Linked DNA regions of Homo sapiens: region 1 is linked to region 2. Evidence: promoter capture Hi-C in human tissues and cell types (Jung and others, 2019). All regions are on one chromosome and are shown on one strand. The core of a region is centred on a gene start or on the middle of the fragment in contact, and the rest is flanking DNA. Distances in the headings are between cores, read along the strand shown.

Region 1 (5,500 bases), core at 108-2,607, 210 kb after region 2:
TGCAGTATGGAAGAGCCTGCTACGGAACTGAAAGTGATTGGACATTTTATAGGAATTGATAGAGATGTTGGTCCTCAAAAGCTACAAACCAGTGGTCTGCAAAATAAAGTGTGTTGGAAACCTCTAGTGAGATAAACCTACTGTTGAGCTTTTTTTTTTTTTTTTTTTTAAATAACGATGACTGAACTTCAGTGTAGCCTGTGCCGTGAGAGCTGGTGTTTTCCTCAGTGGCAGGCCTATTGAGAGGAGGGAGCTAAGTGGAGTATGTACTTAAGGAAATAATATTTGTGAAGATTGATATTTATAAAGAGAAAATGTTGGGTACTTAGAGGTCCGTGTAAGTCTTATGATCCCAAGAGGAAGAATTTGTATTTAAAGCAGTGTTGGCTGGGCATGGTGGCTCACACCTGTAATATCAGCACTGTGGGAGGCCGAGGTGGGCAGATGACCAGAGGTCCAGAGTTCAAGACCAGACTTGCCAACATGGTGAAATCCTGTCTTTACTAAAAATACAAAAATTAGCTGGGTTTGGTGGCGCACACCTGTATTCCCAGCTACTGGGTAGGCTGAGGCACAAGAATCGCTTGAAGCCGGGAGATAGAAGTTGCAGTGAGCAACCTGCCATCACACCACTGCACTCCAGCTTGGGCGACAGAGACTCAGTCTCAAGAAACAGACTCAAGTCTCAACAAGCAAACAAAAACCAGTATTGTATAGTGGCCCAGATTCACCTGTGTTAGAATCACCCGGGGTGTTAGAAGGCAACATTCCTGCCCCTGATTTTCCAGATTCACAGAATCAGAATTTCTGGGGTGTGGGACTTTGGGAATATCTTAAATAAGGACCCTATGGGGCTATGGCCAAAAAAGTTTCAGAACCATGGGTGCAGCACACCAACATGGCACATGTATACATATGTAACAAACCTGCACGTTGTGCACATGTACCCTAAAACTTAAAGTATAATTTAAAAAAAAAACTGATCTCAAAAGGAATGTTGCAGAGGAAGGCAGGGAAAGTAAGAGGACCTGGTTTTGCAACTTTTTTTTTTTTTTTTTTTTTGAGGCGGAGTCTCTCTATCAGCCAGGCTGGAGTGCAGTGGTGCGATCTCAGCTCACTGCAACCTCTGTCTCCCAGGTTCCAGTGATTCTCCCGCCTCAGCCTCCCGAGTAGCTGGGATTACAGGCGCATGCCACCAAGCCTGACTGATTTTTGTATTTTTAGTAGAGACAGGGTTTTGCCATGTTGGTCTCGAACTGAGCTCAAACGATCCGCCTGCCTTGGCCTCCCAAAGTGCTGGGATCACAGGTGTGAGCCACCATGCCCAGCCTTTTGCAACATATTTTGCAGGAATTTTTTCCTCGACCATTCTCTTACCGACCATTCCGACCAAATCTTGACCATTCTGTTTACTTCCCACATCTGAGCTACGGCCCAGCAAGGCAGCAGAAAGACCTGTATTTTGAAAGCTCCACGAAGACTCAAATGATTGTCACTGAATATTGGAGTTCTTGGCAAAATCTATGTAGAACATTTTAAAAGTCAGTGGACAGGCCAGACATGGTGGCTCACGTCTATAATCCTAGCACTTTGGGAAGCTGAGACAGGAGGATCACTTGAGCACAGGAGTTCGAGACCAGCCTAAGCAACATAGTGAGACCTCGTCTCTACAAAAAATAAAATTTAAAAAGTGAGTGGAGAGTAAGTAGTCGATTTGACTTTCTGGTAGCACTTTAAAACTTCACACTGAAGTGTATTTATCTTGGTATACTGATTTGTTTTCTGTAAATCATATAGTATAGTTGCATCCAAAAATACAGTCTGTTAGAATGCATAGAATTAGTGAATACAACCTGAGGCAGCTGGATCATGGTGGAGTCAGTCATTCAGGCACTAGGAATAATCTGAAGGAATATTGAAGCTGCTTATTTGCACAGGCTGTGTTGAGGTATTTATTGTGTTTCAGTCCAAGAAAAATTGAAATATTGTATAAGCAATATGTACTTTTTGGCTCAGTCTTTAAAAATAGTAGATTATAGTCTTCCAAGTTCTGCATGCTTTATAATGAATAAATGTGTTTCAAATTGTTCTGTTTATAGATGAATGAGCCAGGCATTTTCAGTCTGAATTTAGCATTCCCTTTAAAAGAGTTATATCTGAGTTCTCAATCTTAGTTTTAATTGTATAGAGACCAGAATAGCTATACTGTGCTGCACTTTATTTTTAGGTAATAGAGCAAGCGTAGTCATCGACGCTTCAGATACCAGTCGTGTCCGTGTGTGTGTTTTTGTGTATATTTGTTTGTATATATCCTTGAGTTGCTCACTTCCACACCCAGCCCACCCTTTCCTCTAGCTTAGGCAGTGGTTGCATAGACAACATAATTTACTTTGAACAGTAATTTGTAAATTTTTCTCATTAAGAATCCGCATATGAATTATAGTCATTACATATGCCAAGGGGCACAGTGAAAATCACCAATGTCCTGTTAAAAGTGAAGCCTGGGAATATCCTGTTATCTATGCTGAAATCTCTGTGTCTTGAATGAGGATGGGAGTGGATGGATTACACAAGGTCTTCATTCGGTAAAGCAGTAGGTGAGACGGTGCTCCCATAGGCATCTAGACTGGTTCTGGAATTGCCTGGAATCCAAGCCTGCTGCCAATGCCAAATGCTTTGATTTGTCTGTGAATTCAGGGTAAGGAAGGTGCTGTAAGTTTCCCTACGTTTCACAGTCCTTAAATATGACATCCAGCACTGAACACACAGTTGATGCTTTCCATGGTTTTTGTCCTTTCTAAGTCCTGTTGCTTTCAGAGGGAGTTTTATGCTTAGGAGAAACTGCATGTAATGAAGCCTATCAAAGCTTCATAGAAACAGAAAAGACCATGTGCGGTGGCTCACGCCTGTAATCCCAGCACTTTGGGGGGCCGAGGTGGGCGGATCACCTGAAGTCAGAAGTTCGAGACCAGCCTCAACATGGAGAAACCCCATCTCTGCTAAAAAAAAAAAAAAAAAAAAAGAAAATACAAAATTAGCCAGGCATGGTGGTGCATGCCTGTAATCCCAGCTACTCGGGAGGCTGCGGCAGGAGAATTGCTTGAACCTGGGAGGCGGAGGTTGTGCCGAGCTGAGATTGCGCCATTGCACTCCAGCCTGGGCAACAAGAGCGAAACTCCGTCTCAAAACAAACAAACAAACAAACAAACAAACAAAAACAGAAAACTCACTCTATTAGTGATCTGATTGCAGAAAAGCCAGTGTGTTTTCTACTATTATATTTTTAGAACAAGCATAGGCCCGTAGAAAATTATAAGGGCCTGGCTGGGCACAGTGGCTCACGCCTGTCATCCCAGCACTTTGGGAGGCCGAGGCTGGCAGATCCCGAGGTCAGCAGTTCGAGACCAACCTTACCAACATGGTGAAACCCTGTCTGTACTAAAAATACAAAAATTATCCGGGTGTGGTGGTGCGCACCTATAATCCCAGCTACTCGGGAGGCTGGGGCAGGAGAATCGCTTGAACCCGGGAGCCAGAGGTTGCAGTGAGCCAAGATCGTGCCATTGCACTCCAGCATGGGTGACAGAGCGAGACTTTGTCTCAAAAAAAAAAAAACAGAAAAGAAAAAAACGAGGCCGGGCGCGGTGGCTCACGCTTGTAATCCCAGCACTCTGGGAGGCCGAGGCGGCGGATCACAAAGTCAGGAGATCGAGACCACGGTGAAACCCCGTCTCTACTAAAAATACAAAAAATTAGCCGGGCATGGTGGCGGGTGCCTGTAATCCCAGCTACTCGGAGAGGCTGAGGCAGGAGAATGGCTTGAACCTGGGAGGCGGAGCTTGCAGTGAGTCGAGATCGTGCCACTGCACTCCAGCCTGGGCGACAGAGCGAGACTCCATCTCAAAAAAAAAAAATTAAAACGGCCTATAAAATGTTAACGTTGATCATTACCCAGTATCCAGTCCTATATGTTGCTTAATTCTTTTTTTTTTTTTTTCTTTTTTTTTTTAGGCAGAGTCTCACTCTGTCACCCAGGCTGGAGTGCAGTGGCGTGATCTCCGCTCACTACAAGCTCCGCCTCCCAGGTTCAAGCCATTCTCCCGCCTCAGCCTCCCAAGTAGTTGGGATTACAGGCACCTCCCACCATGCCCGGCTAATTTTTGTATTTTTAGTAGAGATGGGGTTTCACCATGTTGGGCAGGCTGATCTCGAACTCCTGACCTCAAGTGATGGGGGTCACTCAGCCTCCCAAAGTGCCGGGATTACAGGCATGAGCCACCGCACCTGGCTGGCATATCTCTTTCTTACTACATCCAGGAAACGTTTCTCCATTTTCAGGACTCATGATTGCAGTGGGCTCACCCAGATAATACGGGGTGATCCCCCTATCAAAGTCCTTAACGTTAATCACATTTGGAAAATCCCTTTTGCCAGGTAAGGTAACAGCCACAGATTCCAGGGATTAGGGCGTGAACATCTTTGGGGAGGACCGTTATTCTCCCCACCACAAGGCCGTATACCCACGGGGTAGCTTCTTCACCAGGGGAGAGATTTTTGCAGCCATGAAGCAAAGCTGTTGCCTCAAACATGGTATTTTTAAAATCAGTGAACAAGAATTGCTTACACAGCCATACCAAGCGGGGGCCAGCAGGGTGGCAGGTCTGTTCACCACTAGCTACCAAGCTTTGTGCACAAAGCAAACGTGGGCCACTAGACAGGCTGTGGCAGAATCGACTTACCTTTTTTTTTTTTTTTTTTTTTTGAGACTGAGTCTCGCTCTTGTCACCCAAGCTGAAGTGCAGTGGCACGATCTCGGCTCACTGCAACCTCCACCTCCAGAGTTCAAGAGATTCTCCTGCCTCAGCCTCCCCAGTAGGTGAGATTACAGGTACCCGCCACCACACCCCGCTAATTTTTGTATTTTTAGTAGAGATGGGGTTTCACCATGTTAGCCAGGCTGGTCTCAAACTTCTGACCTCAGGTGATTTGCCCCCCTCTGCCTCCCCAAGTGCTGGGATTACAGGCATGAGACACTGTGCCCGGCTGGAATCGACTTTTCTTTTTTCTTTCTTTTTTTTTTTTTTGAGATGTGGTTTCGCTCTTGTTGACCAGGCTAGAGTGCAATGGCGTGATCTCAGCTCACGGCAACCTCCGCCTCCTGGGTTCAAGAGATTCTCCTGCCTCAGCCTCTGGAGTAGCTGGGATTACAGGCATGTGCCACCACGCCCGGCTAATTTTGTATTTTTAGTAGAGACGGGGTTTCTCCATGTTGGTCAGGCTGGTCTCGAACTCCCAACCTCAGGTGATCTGCCCACCTTGGCCTCCCAAAGTGCTGGGATTACAGGCATGAGCCACTGCGCCCGGCTGGAATCGACTTTTCTTTTTTCTTTCTTTTTTTTTTTTTGAGATGTGGTTTCGCTCTTGTTGACCAGGCTGGAGTGCAATGGCGTGATCTCAGCTCACTGCAACCTCCGCCTCCTGGGTTCAAGAGATTCTCCTG
Region 2 (6,061 bases), core at 351-2,850:
CCCGGGAGGTGGAGGTTGCAGTAAGCTGAGATCGCACCACTGCACTCCATCCTGGGCGACAGAATGAGACTCTGTCTCAAAAAATAAAAAATAAAAAAAAATCCAAAACATCTTCAGATTTTAATGCCTGATTTTAAAGAAAGGGGTGGCAGGGAAGGAAGAAACCCAAATAGGGTAGTTGCTTTAATCACTGTTACCACTAATTTTCTGAGAGCAGCAAAGCGCGTCTAAGAACTCCAATAAATCTATACTAAATTTTATATGTCCCATACATATTTTCTGGGAAAAAGGGCCCTTGAGCTTTGAACACAATCTCAAAGGAAACAGTGACTAAAAAAGGTTAAGAACCTCTTGTTGAAGGGTTTGCTTTATTGAACGGAAGAAACAGTTCTCCCTCTCCCCTCCACGCTAGGTATAACCAGCCTTCCGGATGTGCCGCCTTTGGTATCACCCAAGATCTCGGGATGGGTACCCATCCCTGCCTCCACTGCCTGGTTTGCTGGTTACCCTGCTCTTTGGTTCTGTTTCTCCATGTGTGTTTCTGCAAGCTGCCTCAATGTCCCCCTTCCTCGGCAGTTGTCCTACTCTGTGTCCCTGAAATAAGAGCGGTTCCTCAGCGGCTGCCTCATTTGGGTGAGACCCACGTGACACTCATCACATTTGTCAACCTCCCCTTTTTCCTCTCTACTCTTTTGGGGCCACTGGCCTTTGTCCCGTGCCGGAGAGGTAGCCCCCCCATCCCCCGACTCTTTACCCTCTTCCTGGTTGGGTTTGGCAGATACTTTCACGCATGTCCCGTCATGTTCCTGTCCTACCATTCCCAGGTAGTGTGAAATTCTTTTCCTGGCCCACTCGAAAGATGTGAGAAAGAAATGGTGCCTGAAGTGCGCTCTCTGATCCCCCGAAAAGAATATTACACATAACTACTAAGCGCTTTGTGTTTGGGTCCATGATTCCGACATATGACGTGGAGAAGCATAGTGCCCTGCACCTGCCTTGACCATGGCCTCCTGAGAGTCCCCAGGGCCACCAAGCCCCCCATTCCAAGTGCTCTCCTTGAATGTGACTCGGCTCTTTCCACAATCCGCCCAGCCTGGGTTAGGGAATGGGAGCTCTCTACTATATTCTTCTCCACAATATTCTAAAACCTCCTCTCTGTCCTTCTAGAGAGAGCGCAAATGGGTAAGTTTTTTCCCCCTAAAACTTGCTTAAAATCAGCGCGTCGGGCCCCGGGGCGCCCGGGATGTGAGGGCGGGGAGGTGGTTGTCGGGGCGGTCCGCGCCCCCACGGCGAGGTGCACGGAGTTAGCTCGGCCCAGCAAGCGGCGGAGGGAGGCCAGCGAGCGGGGTCTGCGAGCGGAGGCCCGGGCGGCGGCGTCGTCCCCGGGGGCAGGCAGGCCGGCCGGGCCCGGGCCAGGGCGCTGCGCCGCGGCCTCCGCGCCTCCTCGGGGCGCCGCGCGGCCAGGCCGGCGGCGGCCCCCGGGGATGGCGGCGGCCGGGCTCCGCCAGCAGGTGGCCCTGGGGTCCCAGCGGCACCGCCCCCTCCGCCGGCGCCCCTCCTCCCGCGGGGGCGGTCAGCGCCCCGGCCGGCTCTGCACCCGCCGCCGCCCTCCCCGCAGCCCGCCCGCCGCGTCTTCGGGGCCGCCGCCGCCGCCGCCGCGACCGCAGGCTGAGCCCAGGCGGGCCGGCCGCCCCGAGCCGCCCCCCGCCTCCGCCGCCGCCGCCGCGCCCCGGCCCGGCCCGCTCCCAACGGAAAGTTGGGCTGCGGCGGGCGGCGTCTGGAACCCGCGGGCCGGCATGAGCGGGGGCCGCGGGGGCGCCTAGGGCACCGGGAGGCGGCGCCGCGCGGGGGCAACTTCGCCCGGGAGCCCACGCCGCCGGGCCCCGCGCCTGCAGCCCCGAGCCGGCTCGCGGTGGTTCCTCCCGTCCCGCGGCCTCCCCTCGCCGACTCCAGGCGCGGACCTTGGTCCCGGCGGCTCCGCCGCGGTGACACGAGCCCGCGCCGCCGCTGCCGCTGCCGCCGCTGCCGCTGCCGCCGCTGCCGCCGCCTCCTCAGCCCCCGCCGCCGCCTTCCCCGCACCATGGAGTTCTCCGAGAGGAAAAGAAGCAGGAAATCCCAGAGCTTCAAACTGGTGAGCCGAGGTAAGCGGCCGCCGGGGCGGCGGGGGCAGGCAGCGGGCGCCGCGCCCTCGGCCGCCCGCGGGGGTCCACGCTGGGGGGCGCGCCCTCCCGGAGCCCCCGGTCCTTCCCGGTCCCCCGGTGCCTCCGCCGGGCTGGCAGGCAGGGCCGCGGCCGCACACGCCGGGCGGCGGGGAAAGTTGTGCGGGGGGAGCAGGGATGTTATTTAACGTAAACAAGTCGGAGGGCAGCTCAGGAAATTAGCAAACAATGACACCGGGGGGCCCGAGCCCTCCTCGGGGCGCCTCCGGGGCAGGGCTGGGGCGGCCGCGGACCTGCCTGGCCATCAGGCCGAGCGTGGACCCTCGGACCTGAGATTTGCTGTTTTTGTTTTCTGGGGTCTTCCCCCTTCCCCCCGCCAAGAGAAGGAGGAAAAAGGATGACCGTTGTTGTTCTTTTTAAGAAGGAGAAAGAAGCTCACGCCGTGTCCAAGCCCAAGGCGGAATTGTTGACATCCAACATCTCTAGCTAGCTGATTTGGGTTGGAAAGGTGTTTTAGACTAGATCATATAGCAGTCAGATAAGCATCCTTTAAAAAAAAGAAAAAAGAAAAGAAAGAAAAGAAATCCATCTAGTTTCTGACGAATTAACAGGTGTACACCACACTCTAGGGTTTGTATTTTGTCAGGGAGGGGAAAGTGGAATACAGTCTTGTCTGTGTTCAGTTACTTGTTAAGAGTCTTTATCTTCCTGATTTGACTTTTTTTTTTAAAAAAATGATAACTCAAGAGCCATCGTGAAAATATATCTCAAAATGCATTGTCATCTTTAATTAGGGGCAGGTGACTTTTTTCATTGTAATGTCACAAGTCCTCATATTGAGTTTAGACCCGCTCTGTTTAAATGTCGTCTTTTAATCAAGTTGAGGTCAAAGCCAAACCCCAACCTGTCCACTTTTCCTCTGTCGTTTTCTCTAGCATTGGCATCAGGGTAGAAACTCCAACAACCTGCAGAAGTCACGTGTAAACTGATGAAAATTAGTGAAAAAATCGTGGACAATTGCAAGTAATCGAATTTTTCAAACTGAGCTAAGCTAGCTAAGATGTGGATTTGGTTCATCTGAAAATGCTTTGATTATAGGCATTTTGAAGATCCATTCTTATCTGCCTCCCCTAATTTAGTTTGGATACTGTTTAATGAAAGAGGCCTGAAATAGTTTCACGCATTCAAAATACTTGGCTCTTCCCACTTTCTGAGTAAATTTTTTTTTCCACATCCGTGTTGATTACTCAGTTACTTGGACTTTTAAAAGTCTCTGTCTGGGTGATTGCCCTGTTGGTGCTATCTGATTCATTCAGGAATGTAAGCTGCTTTCTTATTGATGACCTCAGAGAACTTAACTGCTTTATCTTAAAAGTGAGAGTAGTTTTGTTGACTTTGTCCTGTGAGGTCTAAGGCCAGAGAAAGGGGACTAGGTGTTAAGGAGGAACCTCTATTTTCATGCCTTAGTGACCCTGCTTTTCAAAAATAGAAGCAAAAATGCAGTAGCCTCCATAGAGAAGCTTGTAAAATACTGTATTTGAAACTTTGACTGACGTAGCAAGTTTTTCCTTTTTCCTTTTTTCTTTTTCTTTTAATTATAGGTCTGATTCTTCTCTTTCTCTGCAGGTGCAGTTTTAGAAAATAAACTTGCATATTAAATAAAGTGCAGTAGCTGAATGCGAAAGAGTCACTTGTGTGAAAGATGAAAATCTTGCTTTCTTATCCAAATCATACTACATTTGAAATAACAAATCAGTATTTTTCATGTGTGCTTGCCTTTAAGCTGCTTAAAGGCTGAGATTTTCTGGGTAAACTGAGAAAACTAGAGTGCTGGCTAAACTTTAAAGCATACTGTTGATATGCTGGTGAAAATGGGTTGTGAAGAGAAATTTGGAAACCTCCCCTGCTCTATGATTGGGCAAACATACTTGCCACCTCAAAGAAAAAAAGCCTAAAAATTGGCATCTGTGGGTACAATTTACCGTGAACATGGTGTGATCAAGCAAAGCTGTCTTCTAAAGCCAAAGTAATCTTTCAAGTTTGCGTACTCCAGAATAAGCAAAGTTTTAGGAATTATTATTGACTACAAATTCTGTGATTATTTCAGTTCTCAAAAAGTTTATTTATAAATTATAGAGTATACAAACTAAATAGAATGAGATTCTAGACTTGACTGCTTATTCCTATCTTGAGGTCCTTAGGATTCTAATTTTTGGTTGTTTTCTCATGCCAGATTATCACCACGAGGTGTATAAGATCCCAGAATTCAGCAACGATGTTAATGGGGAGGCCAAAGAGACACAGCCCATTTTTTTAGGTAGGTTCCTATGTCAATTAATACCTCAGCAAAACATCGTGACCATTTGCAATTAGGGGGAAAAAAGGAAATTGTTCAGGAACGGGAAATGTCTGCCATTGCTTAATGTATGACATTCTTTTCAAGACCTTTTATTTTACAGATTGCCAATATATCCCTTATTAACATTGCTAAAAGTTGTAATTTCAGACATAAATGTTTATTAGTGTCTACACACAGTGCTAATTATCACTCACTCACAGAGCCAGATGCTGACTGTGCAGTTTTGTGGCTCTGCGCTCACCCCATTTACATTGCATATTCGTTGGCATGCTTCACTGGCAATAGTTTGTGTAATTGGGGTATTACATCTTTGACATCTGGATAACAGAAATTCAATTTCCAGGAAGCTGCTATTTGTTTGGTTTTGCTTCTGCCTTGGGTGGGATAGAGGATTAATGTGCTGTCTTATAATGTCCCTTCACCTCTGTGGCCCAGTTGCTAATCCTGCCATGACAAAATTAAATTAAATCTACAGTCAAAAAGCATAAGGAAAATAAAAGTGTGACTGTCTGCCTAACCAGCTCTTGATAGTGCTAGTTATCATCAAGCAGCTCCTCATTTTCCTGACTTTGTGCTCCTTTCACACCAGCATTTTGGGACAGGGGGAACAGCATGCTTTCCTCTTACCATCCTTGTTCCCAGCTCACGTCAGGGATGAGCAGAGCTAAAACAGCATTTCTGAGACTTTCCAGCAAGTGTAGCTGCATGATGGGTGGGTAGGTAGCCACAAACATTGCCACCTTTTCCATGTGCAGTGTTGGTGCAAATACTGTACAGGAAAGACTTTGGATGTGCAGTTTTTTATTTGCACACAATCAGCCAAAAATGAAACCACGTAAGATTTTGCCTCTAAGAGTGAAGTACCCATAAGGTCAGGGTGGAGAGTAGATGGTGGCGTTGGGCCTCAACCTTGTCCATCTTGGACCTCTGCAATCCCAGGTAGCAGGGTGAGGGCACAGCACTGCACAGCAAGGAAGCAGAACATGAGAGAGGTCAGAGCGAGAACGATTACAAGCAAAGCCACAATTACCCCATCAAGGGGGACTTCAGGTAGCAGGACTGCTGCTCAGACCCGGTGTGGGTCAGCCTTCAAACGAAGCTCTCGCCAGGATCTCTCTGGTTTTGCTTTGAGGGATAGAAAGGGTGGGTCGGGATGCATTGGGAAGAAGTCAAATATTAATATATACTTTAAGAGGAAAAATAGGAGGGAAATGTCAGCATTTCTTACATGAGCGATCATTGATAGCACATAGATCTTTCTGCTGAGGGAAAGAATATCACTGGGGCCAGCACTGCTCCCAGTACCTGTTTACTGTTAAGAGAGCTAGGAGCCAAAAGGTTAATAATCAAGTGAAATGCTGTGGCCCAGAAAGAGAATATTCTTGGATTCTAGTCTTTCCAGTCCCCTAAACTTGGTCAGTTGGAATTCTTTTTTTTTTTTTTTTTTTTTTGAGACGGAGGTTCACTCTTTTTATCCAGGCTGGAGTGCAATGGCATGATCTCGGCTCACTGCAACCCCTGCCTCCCAGGTTCAGGCGATTCT

Evidence for each region. The method cuts DNA at HindIII sites, captures the fragments that hold promoters and counts their contacts. A contact is called where the count stands out against the background at its distance.
Region 1: a contact is called between a fragment that was not itself captured here and the fragment with the promoter of BEND7 in region 2, in 1 of the 25 tissues and cell types used here (H1 embryonic stem cells).

The regions. Positions count from the first base shown.
Region 1 is chr10:13,312,064-13,317,563 of GRCh38, reverse strand. It overlaps SEPHS1 (selenophosphate synthetase 1), which reads left to right. Exons shown (of 9, transcript NM_012247.5): 9 at 1-136. Among named protein-coding and RNA genes, the nearest start is that of PHYH, 15 kb to the right of the region's middle. The HindIII fragment of the contact is 4,836 bases long and covers 1-3,775 here.
Region 2 is chr10:13,524,553-13,530,613 of GRCh38, reverse strand. BEND7 (BEN domain containing 7) reads left to right here and starts at 1,600. Exons shown (of 9, transcript NM_001369863.1): 1 at 1,600-2,141; 2 at 4,393-4,476. The coding sequence starts at 2,081. It overlaps BEND7-DT (BEND7 divergent transcript), which reads right to left and starts at 2,010. Exons shown (of 2, transcript XR_930674.3): 1 at 1,962-2,010; 2 at 350-594. The HindIII fragment of the contact is 10,469 bases long and covers 1-5,336 here.